Regions from separate parts of the Homo sapiens genome. Here region 2 is linked to region 1. Evidence: promoter capture Hi-C in 16 types of primary human blood cells and fetal thymus (Javierre and others, 2016). All regions are on one chromosome and are shown on one strand. The core of a region is centred on a gene start or on the middle of the fragment in contact, and the rest is flanking DNA. Distances in the headings are between cores, read along the strand shown.

Evidence for each region. Contacts are between HindIII fragments. The CHiCAGO score rates a contact against its expected background, and 5 or more counts as called.
Region 2: a fragment that was not itself captured here is called in contact with the fragment with the promoter of AADACL4 in region 1 in 7 of 17 cell types (activated CD4 T cells, naive CD8 T cells, total B cells and 4 more); the score reaches 8.1 in activated CD4 T cells.

The regions. Positions count from the first base shown.
Region 1 is chr1:12,641,654-12,647,500 of GRCh38, reverse strand. AADACL4 (arylacetamide deacetylase like 4) reads right to left here and starts at 3,416. Exons shown (of 4, transcript NM_001013630.2): 1 at 2,787-3,416. The coding sequence starts at 2,954. The HindIII fragment of the contact is 15,531 bases long and covers 1-5,847 here.
Region 2 is chr1:12,092,794-12,098,975 of GRCh38, reverse strand. TNFRSF8 (TNF receptor superfamily member 8) reads right to left here. Exons shown (of 15, transcript NM_001243.5): 3 at 1,759-1,875. Among named protein-coding and RNA genes, the nearest start is that of TNFRSF8, 33 kb to the right of the region's middle. The HindIII fragment of the contact is 1,350 bases long and covers 1,077-2,426 here.

The DNA of each region.
Region 1 (5,847 bases), core at 2,167-4,666:
TTGACTTTTATCGAGACTTTCTAAGCACCCAGCACTGGTGCTGTGCATTTTCAGTGCTTTTCTCATTTAATCCCCATGTCACCCTATAAAAAGCCTCCCCAGGGCCGTGCACAGTGGTTCATGCCTGTAATCCTAGCACTTTGGGAGGCCAAGGCAGGAGGATTGCTTGAATCCAGGAGTTTAAGATCAGCCTTGGCAACGTAGCAAGACCCCATCTGTACAAAATATCAAAAAATTAGCCAGGCGTGATGTGAAGGTGCACGCCTGTGGTCCGAGCTACATGGGAGGCTGAGGTGGGAGGATCACTTGAACCCAGGAGGTGGAGGCTGCAGTGAGCCGTGTTCACGCCACTGCACTCCTGCCTGGGTGACAGAGTGAGACCCTGTCTCAGAAAAAAAAAAAAAAAAAAATCCTCACTTTTCAGAGAAGAAAATAAAGGCACAAAAACATGAGTCCACAAAACGAGTAAGTGAGGGCTTCAGGGCTCAGAGGGTGGTCTGATACCGAAACAAAGCTCTTGATTTCCTGGCCATAGACTCTTTTTAGCTTTTTCCTTGTCCTCCCTAAACTTCTTGTTCCTGTGTTGTCTATCTGTCCTCTGGAACCGAATGAACATTCACTACTGTATGTCCTCATCCTCATCATCATCACCCCATGATGGGCAGTGTGCCCTGGGAGGCCCCAGTGCCGGAGGGATCGAGAGAGGACGCCACAAGCTGAATCCACCCTTTCAGCGGCTGCAGACCCATCTCAGAGTCCCCTGTGAACAGCCCATAGCAGCTGTCATCAGTAGATGTTTAGCTTGTGGGCTACTTTTGAGGAGAAACACTGACAGAAAAATCTCCATTTCTCTGGGCCACCTGAACATCTTAGGCCCTCGTTTTAAATCCTGGGGCTCTAACCCAACTAGTAACTCCATGTGGATTGCAGCCACTGGCTTGAGACTGCCTAATTCCAGGCTGATTGCATTCTCCAAATGAGAGGACACGAGTACTTTCTACATCCTTGTCCTGTCTCCTTGCGTCAGTGGCATTGATGCCACTGCACACTGAACTTGTCGGTGTCTCTAAAAGTGATCTTTTAGAAAATGTTTTTGTAACCCATGGGGAACACTTCCAGCAGCACAGAGATGTATTTTACGAATTCACTAAACATCTCTAGACATATTAACCCTCCCAGATGAGGAAACTGAGACACAGAGAGGTTAAGTAAATGGTGCAGGACCGCACAGCGAGTGAGTGACAGAGCTGGGACACACACTCAGGCAGTCCGGCTGCTGTCTCTGTTCCTTATTCCTAAGCCCTGCTGTCAGTTAAGCGTGGCCTCCTCATCCTCCTCCACAGCTGCCCTGGAATCAGTAGGAGCTGTTTGGCTTCTATAAGGTCTCCACCTAGGGTTGGGACATTGGGGTTAACTCAGGTTGCCTGCCACAAACAAGATGTCACACCACTGTTTCCAAATCCACTGCAACTCTGGGTGCATGCTGGTCCACCCCAAACCCCCAATCCCCAAGCCCTGCTCAGAGCCTGGCTGGCACGGCCACTCAGAAATGCTGGGTAAATTCATGTATACCAACAAAAGTAAGCACCTACCAGATACCAGGCTCTGTGAGTGGGACTGGGCTTACAGAGATGAATAAGGAAAAAAACACCTGTGAAGCTAGGTGCAGTGGCTCACACCTGCAATCCCTACACTTTGGGAGGCCAAGGCGGGCAGATTGCTTGAGCCCAGGAGTTCTAGACCAGCCTGGGCAACATAGCGAAACCCTGTCTCTACCAAAAGTACAAAAATTAGCCGGGCATGGTGGTGCGCACCTGTAGTCCCAGCTACTTGGGAGGCTGAGATGGAAAGGATCGCTTGAGCCCAGGAGGTTGAGGCTGCACTGAGCCATGATTGCACCACTGCACTCCAGCCTGGGCAACAGAGCAAGACCCCGTCTCAAAAAAGTAAAATAAAATAGAAACAACCTATAGGTAAGTCAGTGCACTGAGGGTGAAAGTGTGCGCGGCTGAAGGAGGGGCAGGGGCTGTCAGGCCACAAGCCCGGGGAAGGCAGGAACTGGGTCTGAAATTGTTTTTGAATTCTCAGAAAAGAGCCCAGTGATTGGCACTCGGTAAATGTTTGATGCTAAAGGAAGAAAGGAAGGGAGTTAGAGAGAGCAGGAGAGAGGAAGGAAGAACGGAACAAAAGGAGGGAAGGAAGGAAGGTAGGAAGGAAACAAGGAAGGAAGGGAGGGAGGGAGGGAGGGAGGGAGGAGGGAAGGAAGAAAGGAGATAGGGAGGAAGGAAGAAGGGAAAGAAGAAAGGAAGGAGGGAGGGAAGGAAGGAGATAGGAAGAGAGAGAATGAAGGAAGGAGGGAAGGAGGAAGGAAGGAGGGAGGGAGAGAAAGAAAGAAGGAAAAAGGAAGGAAAGGAGCGGAGAAGGAGGGAAGGAAGGAAGGGAGGGAGGGAATGAAGGAGATAGGGAGGAAGGGAGAGAATGAGGGAAGGAGGAAGGAGAGGGAAGGAGGGAAGGAAAGAAGGAAAAAAGAAAGGAAAGGAGGGAGAGAAGGAGGGAAGGAAGGGAGGGAGAGAGGAAGAAAGGCAGGCAGGCTATGGGAAGGGGGAAGGAACGGAGGGAGGGAAGAGAGAGGCAAACAGAATAGCAGATACAGAAGAGACAAGTCTATCTTGAGGGAGTCCGAAGAGAGAGAGACAGAAGGGAAGTGAAAGAGGGAAAAGAGGGTAAGGTACTGAGAACAAGAGAAGAAGCCCCCAGGTTACGACGTGGCCTGAGAGTAAACTCACCAAAGTGACCAGGTAGAGGAATATGCAATGCAGGAATCTCAACTTGGCAGGATGCTGCAAGGTAGCAGGGATATCCGTGGTGAGGAAGTGCTCAAAGACAGCCCAGACAAAGACCCCCAGGAAAAAGATGGGCAATGCCAAGAGTAGCACTAGCCAGGGGACAGCCATGTTCCTGGGGCCTTGAGGAGCTGCTGCCCTGAGGAGCTTGTCTGATAGCTTATGTGAAGAGGACCTGGCTGGGTTACACCCTCCGCCTCCTCCACCTCACTCTCTCTGGGCTAAGCCTGACACCTGACACAGTGGCCTGACACAGCTTCTCAGGGTAAGCACAAAAAGGCCAATGGGAGGTGGAGGAACCTATTTCCCTAAGCAATGTGGGGACCCAGAAAAATCAATACTGCTCATCATGGGGAGTCTTGGAAGGTGAGCTTCCCAAAGATTTCAGGAAGATCAGGCTCAGATGGGCACCTCGGCTCCTGGGAACCCTAGAAAGAGATCTCATATGGGTTATATAGGCCTCCAGGGCCTGATCTTTCAACTGTAAGATAAGAGACTTCGCCAGCTTTCCTTGTCAGAGTGTGGTTAGGGTGAGCACAGCACGTCTCACCCCAGCTCCCTAGCTAGCTTCCCTAACCCCAGTTTTGTTTTGTTTTTTGAAACAAGGTCTCACTCTGTCACCGCCTATGTACCCTCTGGGCCTCTGGCCAGATCAGGGCAAAGACTGGCGTGTTTTCTGGTAGTCATAATCTTCTGGGGTCCTGGGACGGGAGACAGGAATGCCATTGCAGGCAAAACTGGGCTTTATCCAGCCTCATATTCCGCCTCTAAAAATGGTGCCAAGGGCTGGTTTGGGGACAATTTTTATCCACGTTACTTTCTTCTAAGAGAGAAAGAAATGATTGGAACCATTTCAGGAAATAGGCTTTGAGCCTGAAAATTTTAGAAATTTTAATTTGGGCCGAGCACGGTGGTAATCCCACCTGTAATCTCAGCACTTTGGGAGGCTGAGCTGGGAGGATCACTTGAGGCCAGGAGTTCAAGACCAGCCTGGCCAACAGGGTGAAACCCCCTCTCTACCAAAACTACAAAAATTAGCCGGGCATGGTGGCACATGCCTGTAATCCCAGCTACTCGGGAGGCTGAAGCTGGAGAATCGCTTGAACCTGGGAGCTGGAGGTTGCAGTGAGCCGAGATCGCACTACTGCACTCCAGCCTGGGCAACAGAACGAGACTCTGTCTCAAAAAAAAAAAAAAAAAAAAAAAAAAGGGAGAATATAGAAACTATACATATAAGAAAATACCACTACCCTTAGGGCTTAAATAGAGCACCCAAGAAAGACCCCGTTTCCACCCATAGGGATGAGACCCAGCTCTTGTTGGAAAGGGCATAGTGTGAATTTGCTGAACTGGCAAAGAAGTTGCTCAACTGCTACACCAGGGGGACTCACTGGTGTCTTCCTCTTGACACACACACTCAACAAATTTGCTGAAAATCTGCTCCCTTGGGTGCTAGGGAAAGCCATTTATTCACAGGGAGGTGTTTTACTGGAGGCACTCTGAAGTGAAACCACCCAAGGGGACTGGAAGGGAAAGTTATTAACCTCCGAGTGCTGCAGGAGCTTGGAACTAGAAGGCAGACCCCCTTTTTCATTCCTATTATTTATGTTTTAGGTTTTTGGTTTTTTGTTTGTTTGTTTGGTTTGTTTCAGAAAACAAAAGTTATAGAAGAGGCTTTACCCCAGTGAGTATATGCATGGCAGATTTTTGTGTTTTTACGTCATTGTATCTTTGTAAGAGTTTACTTAGGTTTCTCTTAGAGGGTTATAAGATTCACTATTCTGGCTAGGTGTAATTATCTTTTGTCGTTGTTGTTTGTTTGTTTGTTTTTTGTTTTTTTTTTTGAGATGGAGTCTCGCTCTGTCACCCAGGCTGGAGTGCAGTGGTGTGATCTCAGCTCACTGCAAGCTCCGCCTCCCAGGTTCACGCCATTCTCCTGCCTCAGCCTCCGGAGTAACTGGGACTACAGGCGCCCCCCACCACGCCCGGCTAATTTTTTTGTATTTTTAGTAGAGACGGGGTTTCACCACGTCAGCCAGGATGGTCTCGATCTCCAGACCTCGTGATCCACCCATCTCAGCCTCCCAAAGTGCTGGGATTACAGGTGTGAGCCACCATGCCCGGCCAGGTGTAATTATCTTTTTAAAACTCATGACAAATAATGTAATTTTTGGTTTCTTAAGCATGTTTATGGATACCCCTGAAGATAGCACACACGGGAGGAGCTTGGCCTGGAAAAGCAGATAGCGCAATTACTGCCCCCAGAGCATTTTTGAAAACAGTAGGACAATTAGCCTGCAGTTAGTGGAGGCTAATAGTTGGGTGTGAGACCAACAGAGGCACAGAGCTTAACAGAGAGATCAGGGAAGGAGAAAGTCAAGACAGCCCTGTGGAAAACACTGCATTCTTAGGGTGACTGTACACAGGACCAAGGCTGCACCACCTGAGGTGTGATATTAGAAGCTGCACACTGCAAAGGAAATAGACTTTACTGAAATAGCTTATCCACATCATTAAACAAATAAAGAAGGTCAGAACACAGGGGCTCGTGCCTGTAATCCCAGCACTTTGGGAGGCTAAAGCAGTGAATCATTTGAGCTCAGGAGTTCAACACCAGCCTGGGCAACATGGTGAAACCCCATTTCTATGAAAATAAAAATTAAAAAAATAGTGCATCTGGCACAGTGGCTCAGGCCTGTAATCCCAGCACTTTGAGAGGCCAAGGCGGGCAAGGTCAGGAGATCAAGACCATCCTGGCTAACATGGTGCAACCCCGTCTCTACTAAAAATACAAAATATTAGCCAGGCGTGGTGGTGGGCACCTGTAGTCCCAGCTACTCGGGAGGCTGAGGCAGGAGAATGGTATGAACCCAGGAGGCAGAGCTTGCAGTGAGCTGAGATTGCGCCACGGCACTCCAGCCTGGGTGACAGAGCGAGACTCCATCTTAAAAAAAAAAAAAAAAAACATAGTGCATGCTTGTAGTCCCAGCTACTTGAGTGGCTG
Region 2 (6,182 bases), core at 502-3,001, 550 kb after region 1:
TAAAAAATGTTAAGGCTAACATGCCAAGGGACTTATGGTTGCAGATGAGAATATAAACATTATAGATTATGACAAAGTAAAATTTGTGTAAGGAATAAAAGTCAGGAAGAGGATGAGGAGGTGGGAAAAATAATTACTTTGTTCTTCATTACAGGGAGTCAATCTATTCTCTACTGTCCAAAACTCAAACTAAGCAGATTTTGCCTTTACTGCAAGAGATAGTAGATTCTGAAATGATTATTAACCACTTACTGATTTTCATAACCTCCTTTCTTAATTTTAGAGGGTTTTTTTTTTTAAAGGAATTGCAGTATCTTTTGCTGAAGATACATTAATCTGACTGAGGTTTGGCATTCTTCTGTTTCACTTCGCTTTCTTTTTCTGATACTTTTGACTAAAATTAAATATTATCATTTTAATGCCATAAATATGTTGCCATTCTCTTAAAATTCCTTCTTTGTAAGTGTGTACAGGCTGTCTGGTTACTAACCTACCCATCTTTATACAGAGAGGTAGAGGCGTGTCAGCCATCTAATGATAATAGTAGTTATCTATAGATGGAGGGCTGGGGAGGGCAATGTTTGTTTTCTTCCTTACACTCTTTGTATTGCTTGAATTTTAAATAATAAATGTTTATAATTTTCATTTCATAAAATGCAGTCATTACTTTTAGAAATTCAAAGATACACCAGATAAATGCTAATAAAAAGAAAGAAGAAATGGCAATATTATTATTACTTTTCTTTCTTTTTAACCTTTGCTACTTCTTCCAGGAAGGAATAGCAATATTAATGCCAAACAAATGTGAAATTAAGGGAAAAGGCATTACAAGGAATGGAGAGGTATATTCATGTGGATAAAAAGCCCAACCCACCAAAAAAACATAACATTCATGAACATTTATGTACCTAATAACATAGCTTTGACATATATGAAGCAAAAATAGAAAGAACACAATGAAAATCTAATAGATGAACAAGTATACTGGGAGATAAGATTTTAACACATCTCTCAGAAATAAAGGTGATAAAAGTAAATAAGGGTACACATTATTTAAATAACACAATTAACAAGCTTAACTTAATAGATATGTAGAGAACTTTATACGCAACAAACAGAATACACATTTTAAAACACCCATACACTGAACACTCTGAAAATACATGATCATTTATTATTTATTAGACCACAAAAAGATCTCAACAAATTTCCCCCACCCTACCCCCCAAAAAAATCCACACAAAAATAAACACTAGATAGCACACAGACTGCATTCTCTAACCATAATAAGAGACTAACAATAAAAGGTCATACTGAAACAGTTTTCCTGGAAGTCCTGTGATCTTAGGAAAAGAACACAGCTCTTGGTGTCAGGCCACAACTCAAACTCCAGTTCTGCCACTTACCAGAGTTTTGTAACTTTGGAAAGGCCCTTAACCTCCCTATCCTCAAATTCCTCATTGTAAAGTAAGGATAAGCAAGAAATCCTCCCCTAGGGCTGTGGTGAGGATTAAACTCAAAAAAATGTGAGTCCTCTCCTTCAGGAAACATGTTAAGTCTCTGTGAAAGTATGGATGCAAAAGGTCATGGCTGATATCAAATCACAAATGCAGAGAGGTAAACTGAGGCACCAGGAGGACAATTCAGAGAACAGACATCAAATCATGATGCTCTCCACCTTCCAGATTCTTCACCTCTCCTCTGAGGACCCCTCATGCTCCCTAGAAGGAGGCCCTGGAGAGAGAACAAGGCCCTTACCTCGAGAACAAGTCACGCAGGCTGTACAGCGGTCGGCCTCATCCAGGTAGTAGTCAGGCTCACACTGCTTCCTGCAGTCAGTAGGCCTCTGTGGGCACTGCTGTGTCGGGAACAGCCCTGGGAAAAGAAACAGAGAAGCTCCAAGCCAGGCTGACTTAGCAAAGGCCTTATGACCCAATGCCCCACACCTCTCATCCCTGACGCCCCTCCCAGCTCCACCTCCAACCCCCGAAAACTGTCAGTCCAATTCTTGTGTTATGGATGGAAGCACTGACACCCAGGAGGGGCAACCCTCGCCTAAGGTCCCCTAGCAGGCAAGGAAAAGCAACATAGTTATAGAGAAGAGCTGGGCCTGGGATTCTAGGGCTGCCATTTGCCAATTGCGTGATAATGACCTTGTCAGCACTATTTGTGTGTGTGTGTGTGTGAGGGTACATAGTACGTGTATATATTTAGCACTATTAAGTTAGTAATAGGACCCACCTCCTAGTGTTCTTGAAAGGACTGAATGGACTGTGAAGATAAATATGTATAAAGTACTACAGCAGTCCCTGGCACCCAACAAGCACTATATGAGCACCGGTTGTCATCATTCTCTGCAGGGGTCTTATCTCACTGCAGGAATTAGGAGAGCCATAACTTTAGACCATGAAAGTCTAGACCAAGCTTGTCCAACCCACGACTAGCCGCATTCGGCCCAGGACAGCTCTGAATGAGGCCCAACGCAAACTCATAAACTTTCTTAAAACATTATGAGATTTGCGTGTGTGTGATTTTTTTTTTTTTTTTTTTTAGCTCATCAGCTATAAGCTAAAACACTATCCTTAGTGTTAGACTAAATTCACTTCTTCCACACTAACACTTCTTCTTCCAATGTGGCCCAGGGAAGCCGAAAGATTGGACACTCCTGCCACTAAGACCCTAATCCAGCCTGATTTCGAGATAAACAAGTCACCCAGCAATCGCTGCCTACCTTGCTTCCAGGATGAGCACATGACCCAAGCAGGCCAATCAGAATACTTCTTCCCATCAATATAATTGGCTCAGGATTGCCACATGACCCAAGCAGGCCAATCAGAGTACTCCATGTTCCTCACCACTGTGATTAGTTTAGTATGGGCACATGACCCAGGCATGCCAGCCAATAAGCCTCATCTCTGAGAGTTTCACAAAAGCAATCCAGAAAGATGTCCTCCGTTTATCTACTGGATTCCTGGCTGAAAGGGCTAGTTAAGCCCAGAGCTGCCCAGGTCATCACAGCCTGAGCGTGGGCATGGTGTGGGCAGGACTTGCCTAAGAAGGAGGTGACTCAGAAGCCAGCAGAAGCCAGAGTTGGAGAGAAATGGGCTCCTGAGGACATCGTTCAAACATCTGAATGTAGGGTGTCCATGGACTTCTCTGTTAGGGAGCCAATTATTTCTCTTTTGTCTTATTTGAGCCCTTCTGCCAGTTACAATGAAAATAGACCAGGGGGTTCCCAATATTTCTTGTGCCCCTAATCATTCTAAGGAAGCCTGTGGACACTGCACAGAATCATGAATTCATGAATAAAATATGCAGGAATGCAGAGGAATCCAACTACCTTGGAATATGGTTATCAAAGCATTAAACAAAATAACATATAGTAACAGGCCGGGTGCGGTGGCTCACGCCTGTAACCCCAACACTTTGGGAGGCCGAGGTGGGTGAATCACATAAGGTCAGGGGTTCAAGACCAGCCTGGCCAACGTGGTGAAACACCGTCTCTACTAAAAATACAAAAATTAGCTGGGTGTCGTGGCAGGCGCCTGTAATCCCAGCTACTGGGGAGGCTGAGGCAGGAGAATCACTTGAACCCGGGAGGCGGAGGTTGCAGTGAGCCGAGATCGTGCCATTGCACTCCAGCCTGGGCAACAGGAGCGAAACTCCATCTCAAAAAAAAAAAAAAAGATACAGTAACATGTGATTCTTTGTAAACTCATTAAATAATAGGGTAAAATAACTCCACAGTTTCAAAGCAATGATGAGCCCAGACAACATTTCACAACATCTGCAGCTACTGTAATATAATCTGAGAATATCTATGATTTCCGCTGAGGACAAAGCCGTGTACTACAATTACCACTGTGCTTTGTTGCCTTAATTCATAATGGGCGGAATTCATAAGTGAATTTTAGCTAGAAGCTAATTAAAATAATTGAATCCATTCAGGTTCATGAACCCTGTGAAATCTACCTTTGAGTCCATGGACCCCAGGGTAAGCACCTCTGCCCTAGAACAACACGCAAGAACCTCTCAAAAATACTAGCTTCGAGCCGGGTGCGGTGGGTCAAACCTGTAATCCCAGCACTTTCGGAGGCCGAGGCGCATGGATCATTTGAGGTCATAAGTTCAAGACCAGCCTGGCCAACATGGTGAAACCCCGTCTCTACTAAAAATACAAAAATTAGCCGGGCATGGTGGTACACTCCTGTAATCCCAGCTACTCAGGAGGCTGAGGCAGGAGAATTGCTTGAACCTGGTAGGCGGAGGTTGCAGTGAGCCGAGATCGCGTCACTGCACTCCAGCCTGGGCGATAGAGTGAGACTCCGTCTCAAAAAAAAAAAGCAAAAAAAAAAAAAAAAACTAGCTTCATGGCTGTCACTCTTTAACTCAGACACTTCAGTAGTTCCCCAGTAGTCTGAGAGGTAAATCTGACCCCTTCACTCCTTGCTGAAAACTTTCAAAGGCTTCTCATGGCTCCCAGGATGGGTCCTTACCATGGCTAGTGAGGTTCGGCTCACCTATGTCCCCCTTGCCCTCTGATCTCTAGCCACACTGGCATCTCCCTGTTCCCCAAAGGGGCAATGCTCCCTTCTGCCACCCCAGGGCCTTTGCACAAGCTGGTCCTCTGCCCCGAATGCTCCTCTCCCCTAGTAACTCCCACTCAGCCTTCACATCATGATCAAAGCATCACTGTCTCAGAGCCTTGGTCGTGATCCCCAATAAAAACAAAGACTCATTTCCTTGCCCTTCAACACCTAACTGTTGTAATCACACATTTATTTGTGAGCTCAATCTTCACAGTGTCTAAATTCCCCATAAGAATGTCAGCTCCATCGGGTGCGGTGGCTCACGCCTATAATCCCAGCACTTTGGGAGGCTGAGGTGGGCGGATTTTTTTTTTTTTTTTTTTTTTTTGAGACAAAGTCTTGCTCTGTTGCTCAGGCTGGAGTGCAGTGGCAGGATCTCAGCTCACTGCAACCTCCGCCTCCCAGGTTCAAGTGATTCTCCTGCCTCAGCTGAGATTACAGGCAATCACCACCATGACCGGTTAATTGTTTGTATTTTTAGTAGAGACGGGGTTTCACCGTGTTAGCCAAGATGCTCTCGATCTCCTGACCTCATGATCCGTCCCGCCTTGGCCTTCCAAAGTGCTGGGATTACAGGCGTGAGCCACCGCACCCAGCCCAGGCGGATCATTTGAGGTCAGGAGTTTGAGACCAGCCTGACCAACATGGTGAAACCTCATCTCTACTGAAAATGCAAAAATTAGCCAGGCGTGGTGGTGCACACCTGTAATACCAGCTACCTGGGAGGCTGAGGCAGGAGAATCACTTGAACCCAGGAGGCAGAGGTTGCAGTGAGCGGGCATAGCGCCACTGCACCCCAGCCTGGACAACGAAGCAAGACCCTGTCTCAAGGAAAAAAAAAAGTCAGCTCCTTGAGGATGAGTCTTTCTATGTCCACTCACCAATGCCTCCCCTATCATAGGGCCTCACACATATTTCATTAAAACATGTTCTGTCAACCTAGTTCATACGGCATTCCCCAGCCTGCACTCCCAGGCCTCACACTGTGTCTCCATCTTCCCAGTCTGGCATTCTAGTACATTGCTCACTTCATGCACTCTCTACTACAGCCAGTCTGGGTATCTTGATCTTTTCTCTAACACCCCTCATACATCCTGAATGTTGGTATGGATTAAATTGTGTCTCCCCAAAAAAATATATATGCTGGAGTCCTAACCCCCAGTACCTCAGGATGTGACTTTATTTGGAGGTAGGGGCTCTGAAGAGGCAATCCAGTTAAAATGAAGCCGCTAGGGTGGGCCTAATCTAATCTGACCGGTGTTCTCATGAAAAGGGGAAACTTGGCCGGTGCGGTGGCTCACGCTTGCAATCCCAGCATTTTGGGAGGCCGAGGCGGGCAGATCACCTGAGGTCAGGAGTTCAAGACCACCCTGGCCAACATAGCGAAACCCCGTCTCTACTAAAAATACAAAAATTAGCAGGGCATGGTGGCATGTGCCTGTAATCCCAGCTACTCGGGAGGCTGGGGCAGGAAAATCACTTGAACCTGGGAGGTGGAGGTTGCAGTGAGCTGAGATTACACCACTGCACTCCAGCCTGGGCAACAGAGGGAAACTCTGTCTCAAAAAAAATAAAAAGAGGTCGGGCGCGGTG